2 separate regions of the Homo sapiens genome follow, and region 1 is linked to region 2. The links are contacts of gene promoters, found by promoter capture Hi-C in blood cells and fetal thymus (Javierre and others, 2016). All regions are on one chromosome and are shown on one strand. The core of a region is centred on a gene start or on the middle of the fragment in contact, and the rest is flanking DNA. Distances in the headings are between cores, read along the strand shown.

Region 1 (2,700 bases), core at 130-2,629, 7.4 Mb after region 2:
AGATTCCTATACTTTGTTGTTTTTAGTGCTGGCAAACATTAAGAAGTGATTCCTTGGCAATGTAAGTCCTATTTCTTCCCTTTGCATATAGGCAAAGTGTCAGGCTCCAGCCTGAGTTCCAGCACAACCAAGGCTAGGATGGAAACATGAATGGCAAGCTGGAGGACCTGGCGGGGCAGGCCTACAGCGAGCCATGGGTTGAAGATCTGAGTTGTGCCCTGAGAGGACACTCATTGTGACCTAAGAAGAAAGAGGCAGTACAAAGTGGACCCAGTTCTAACACCTCCTTGGGATAGGGCCTCCTGCTCCATCATGTCCTCTCTGTAGCCCAAGGACACGTCTGCATCCACGGCACAGAGGGTAAAACCAGATGGTAGTTTCATCAGAAGTTCTGTAGGCTCCCCAGCACAAGCAGCACTGTCTGACATCTAACAGGATGTGTTCCTAAATCCCAGCACCAAGCTTTGGCATCTTGAGAGGACCCAGTAGGAGAATGGAATGCCTCCCGGGAAAGGGCAGCAGTAGCTGACCACAGAAACACGGAAAGCTGCAGAGGCTGCTCAAGACATCTCTTAGCACATGAGACTCGCAGAAATACTTGGGGAGGGATGGAGACCTGGTAATGAAAAGGCTTGGCAAGAGCTACTTAAATAGCGGTTTTTAATCATTAAAATAAACTCTCATTTTGAAAAGCCTGGTGAAGCCTGTGGAGCTTGGAATTTTCAGAGGAGATGGCAGTAACATCATCGGACTGTAGAATTAGATTTTTTTTTTCCCAATAAGGTAATGATGCAGATATCCACACTGGTCCCCTCAACAGTCTCTTGCCCTTTATAGTAATGCATACTGGCACACAGGCAAAGGTTGGATTGAAACAGGCGAATACTTTGTAGACAAGGAACCATGTGTTTATCTTTTCTGGATAAGAATTAAACTAATACTGGTATCAGGATTGCTAGTATCATGAACTGATATAAACAGCCAGAACACATAGCATTGTGTGTCATCTTTTAACTCGTGGGACTTCATGTCTATGAGTCCTTTGCCACTGCTATTAGGATCTAGTTTTACTAAAACACTCGAAATAGGAGTTTAAAGTAAGAAATGAAGTAAACGGGCTGGGCGCGGTGGCTCACACCTGTAATCCCAGCACTTTGGAAGGCCGAGGCAGGCAGATCACGAGGTTAAGAGATTGAGACCATCCTAGCCAACATGATGAAACCCTGTCTCTACTAAAAATATAACAATTAGCTGGGCGTGGTGGCGCACGCCTGTAGTCCCAGCTACTTGGGAGGCTGAGGCAGGAGAATCGCTTGAACCTGGGAAGCTGAGGATGCAGTGAGCCGAGATCGCACCGTCTCAAAAAAGGAAGTAAACATGTCCTTCCTGTTCTCATTTTAAACTTGATTTAGATTTCCAATAATGAAAGACAAGTGGGTGTGTCACATGTGTGCTAGCAATGTGAAACAAATGCTATTCATATTTCTCAATTCATAATTGCAGTTTGATTTTTGATGTTAGTTATGGGCTTTGGATTCCTCTTCAATCAAATCAGCTTCACAAGTTAAATGGATTGTTTTTATTAATTTACAATGAAATAGTTTTTGAATGACTTCACACAAAAACCTAGAGATAACATCACAATTGCAATGTTATAAAGTTTAAAGGCCTATTCATTTCACTGTCAGTTGAAATTCGTTACCAGGTGAAAATTCTGGAGCTGGGTTTTGCACTGAGGATGCTACACAGCCACTAGCCTTTTTAATTTGGTCTTATTAACAGAAATACTGACTTAGTGAAATTACAGGCATAGGCCTCTTAATCGCTTTTTATGAGTCTGAACTTTTGCTTTCAATACCAAATAGTATCTGAAAAACATGCTCACTTTTGTGCTTCTTGAGAAATTCTAAGAATTGGCCCAGATTCATGTGATAGTCATTCCTTAATCCATAGTCACCATGAGCCTCAAGGAGTAACTCTTCAAAAGAATGGAAAAGGCGCAGGTCCTCACCATTTCCTTCTGTCTCCACGCTTTCAGCATGCTTACAGGAAATGTGCTTCCAATTGGGGTACCTAATTGTGTGCCAGAACTCCTCACAGTGCTCTTTGAAACCCTCCACACAGATTATACCAGGCTTTCCTGTCATGCAAAATCCAGTCACATCTAACCTTTTCCCAACATCCAAAATCTTTTTCCTTAGGTCCTGCTGATATATATGGTGACTGTAGATCCACATTCGGAGGAATGTGTTCTTGACTGGCTTTGCTTGTGTAGATGGTTCATATACAAGCTTTCTGTTCAGGAAATAAGATGCACTGTTGTCCTGTAGCCACTGGATTGCTGCACATACACAGAGCTCACCTGGATCAAAAGTCCCTATGTAAGAAGTGAGACCTTTGTTGAGAAGTAGCTGCTGATGTCTGTCAAGTTCAGATGACCGTCCAAACAGCTGCAATGCTACATAGGGGTAGCTGTGAGGCATGGTCACTTGCAAATCAATTTTCACCTTAAAATGAAAATCAAATAGATTTAAATACCATAACATCACATAAGCTAGTTTATCAATAGCAACTGCATGATTTTGAGAAATGTTATTGCTACTATTAAATGTACCAGGTACTTTACATACATGATTGCTTCCTTTTATGCATTATTTCAATATTTATTGAACAACTACGTGTGCCAGGTGCCCTTGTGCT
Region 2 (2,700 bases), core at 200-2,699:
TACTGGGTATCAGTGCACCACGCATCATTTCACATGCCCTGATTTCTCACTTGGACAACCAACTGGGTGATGGCATCCTTAAGTGACATAGGAAAATAACATAGGAATATATTTGTGGTGGGTGACAACTTTTGAATTTGCTGTGGTATCTTGAAGTTTAGGTGTTTGTCTAAGTAGAGATGACCAATAGGTCCAGAATTCAGGAAAAATCTTGAGTATTTGGAGATTAGGAGTCATCATTATAAAAATAGTATGAGAAACAGAGACCTTGGGTAAGAGCATGCAAAGAGAGAGTGTACAGTGAAAAGAAATTATCGTTTCTTTCATTTTTTTATCCACTCATCAAACTGTCACTGCGTGTCACTAGAACTACGAATAAAAAGTGACAGAATGTTTCCCAGGAGTTTGTAACTTCTTGATGGTCAAATCCAATGATCTATTTGCAATCCCAAATGTGTTTAACATAATTCCACAGTTAGGCTTTATGTCAAACGGACTATATAAAATTCAACAGTTAGTTTAAAACTAAAACTTGTGCTGGTAGTACAACATGAGCAATACTGACCATCTTGGGGACAGAATGATCTAGTTTGTGAGGACCATAATTGCTTTAAACTCTCAGCGTGTTTTCTCATGTCCTGAAAATGGTGACAAAAATATTCGATTTTCAAGGCGACTGTTGATGATTCATTTACCAATCTAAAGCACTAGTGCCCCGCACTCGTAATCCATAACTTGAGATGAACACACCAAATTATAAATATCTTATTCACCTAATCCGTGGAAAGTTTGTAACACCAAAATATTAACTTCTGTTCTTGATCACTCAGCCTCCATAGTTATTCATGTTGCATGATCTGATTCGCTCTTTTAGAATTTCTCATAGCGTCAGGTACTAGCTCAAAATAACAGGAGCAACTGCTTCTTTCCATATCCCACATTGAGGAAAACACATTTTGCAAGCCGTCTTAAAGAAACAGGTCAACTTAGTTTAGGGATGAAACTTAAAAGTAAGCTTCGTCACAAAAAACACAGTTCAACACCACCTCGCCCGGCTGCAGGCAGCTCAGAGGACAGGAAGTGAGGCCAAGACATATTTCACGCAGCACAGACTAAACCCCAGCTTTTATCTTTCCCGCTGGTCCTTAAGGGACCAACCGTACTGATTTTCCGTCATGTTCCGCGCCACTTCCGTTCGCGCACTTTAATTACGTCAGGCGTCCTCTCTCGCGGTATCATCCGGTTGCTGAGGCCCTGTAATAAAGGTCTCGCGAAATTTGTTCTAGAGGTCCAAGTTTGCTTCTTAGCTTACTCCACCCCACCCCCAACCTGTCCCTCCTTTTCTTTCCAAGTCACAAAATTCTCCCCTCCCCTACCCCGGAGTTTACGGCCCTCCTCCTGTTTCCGATTTCAGCCCGGAACCGGAAGTGTAGTGGGCGGGGCCCGTCGGCGGAAAACGCAGCGGAGCCAGAGCCGGACACGGCTGTGGCCGCTGCCTCTACCCCCGCCACGGATCGCCGGGTAGTAGGACTGCGCGGCTCCAGGCTGAGGGTCGGTCCGGAGGCGGGTGGGCGCGGGTCTCACCCGGATTGTCCGGGTGGCACCGTTCCCGGCCCCACCGGGCGCCGCGAGGGATCATGTCTACAGCCTCTGCCGCCTCCTCCTCCTCCTCGTCTTCGGCCGGTGAGATGATCGAAGCCCCTTCCCAGGTCCTCAACTTTGAAGAGATCGACTACAAGGAGATCGAGGTGGAAGAGGTGAGCGAGGCCCGGCATGGAGACGCCGGTCCCGGCCTGCCCCGCCCCCGCCTCTGCCTGGTGCCGGCTCTGAAGGTGCCTCCCGGGGCCCCTCTAATTCGCGGGACCCTGCGGGGTCCACCCGGGAGACCCCACAGCCCTCAGTAACGTGGGAGTGGGGGTTACTCTCTGAGCTCAACTGCTCGGGAGTAGCTGCCTTTTTTCCTCTCTTGGGTACTCTTGATTTTGGATTTGATATTCCGGTGATAAACAGGAGAATGAACTGGTGAGATAGTGTGGTCCACCAGTTCTCGTATCTGTAAGTAGTAGTTTCAGCGAAGATCGTAGCCGTTCTGGAGTTTCAGTCCGCTGGACGTAATGTTCTTTTTTTTTTTTTTTTTTTTTTGAGACGGAGTCTCGCTCTGTCGCCCAGGCCGGACTGCGGACTGCAGTGGCGCAATCTCGGCTCACTGCAAGCTCCGCTTCCCGGGTTCACGCCATTCTCCTGCCTCAGCCTCCCGAGTAGCTGGGACTACAGGCGCCCGCCACCGCGCCTGGCTAATTTTTTGTATTTTTAGTAGAGACGGGGTTTCACCTTGTTAGCCAGGATGGTCTCGATCTCCTGACCTCATGATCCACCCGCCTCGGCCTCCCAAAGTGCTGGGATTACAGGCGTGAGCCACCGGGCCCGGCCGGACGTAATGTTCTTAATGGCCAAAGATTGTATTATATTCGACTTCTACTTCAGTACCTGGCATGTAGGGGATGCTCAATAAATGCTTGTTAAATTAGTAGATCATCAAGTCTAATAAAGTGTTTCCCTTAGCACCGAATGGTTCTCAATTTCTCCGATACCGCACAGCAATACTCGTAATGTTTAAATGCTCGGCTTTCAGTTGGGCTAATGTAGGTGAATTTCACCATAAGTAACATAGACTGGTCTACGATCAAAAGATGTTTCAAG

What was found. The method cuts DNA at HindIII sites, captures the fragments that hold promoters and counts their contacts. A CHiCAGO score of 5 or more calls a contact.
Region 1: a fragment that was not itself captured here is called in contact with the fragment with the promoter of MAP3K7 in region 2 in 1 of 17 cell types (non-activated CD4 T cells); the score reaches 7.3 in non-activated CD4 T cells.

The regions. Positions count from the first base shown.
Region 1 is chr6:83,195,402-83,198,101 of GRCh38, reverse strand. It overlaps RWDD2A (RWD domain containing 2A), which reads right to left. Exons shown (of 3, transcript NM_033411.5): 3 at 1-2,507. The coding sequence ends at 1,830. Among named protein-coding and RNA genes, the nearest start is that of RWDD2A, 3.4 kb to the right of the region's middle. The HindIII fragment of the contact is 1,829 bases long and covers 465-2,293 here.
Region 2 is chr6:90,585,821-90,588,520 of GRCh38, reverse strand. It overlaps MAP3K7 (mitogen-activated protein kinase kinase kinase 7), which reads left to right and starts at 1,449. Exons shown (of 17, transcript NM_145331.3): 1 at 1,449-1,757. The coding sequence starts at 1,638. It overlaps LOC124901363 (a long non-coding RNA gene), which reads right to left and starts at 1,727. Exons shown (of 2, transcript XR_007059680.1): 1 at 566-1,727. RefSeq lists silencers at 1,317-1,513, 1,510-1,629. The HindIII fragment of the contact is 2,842 bases long and covers 1,018-2,700 here.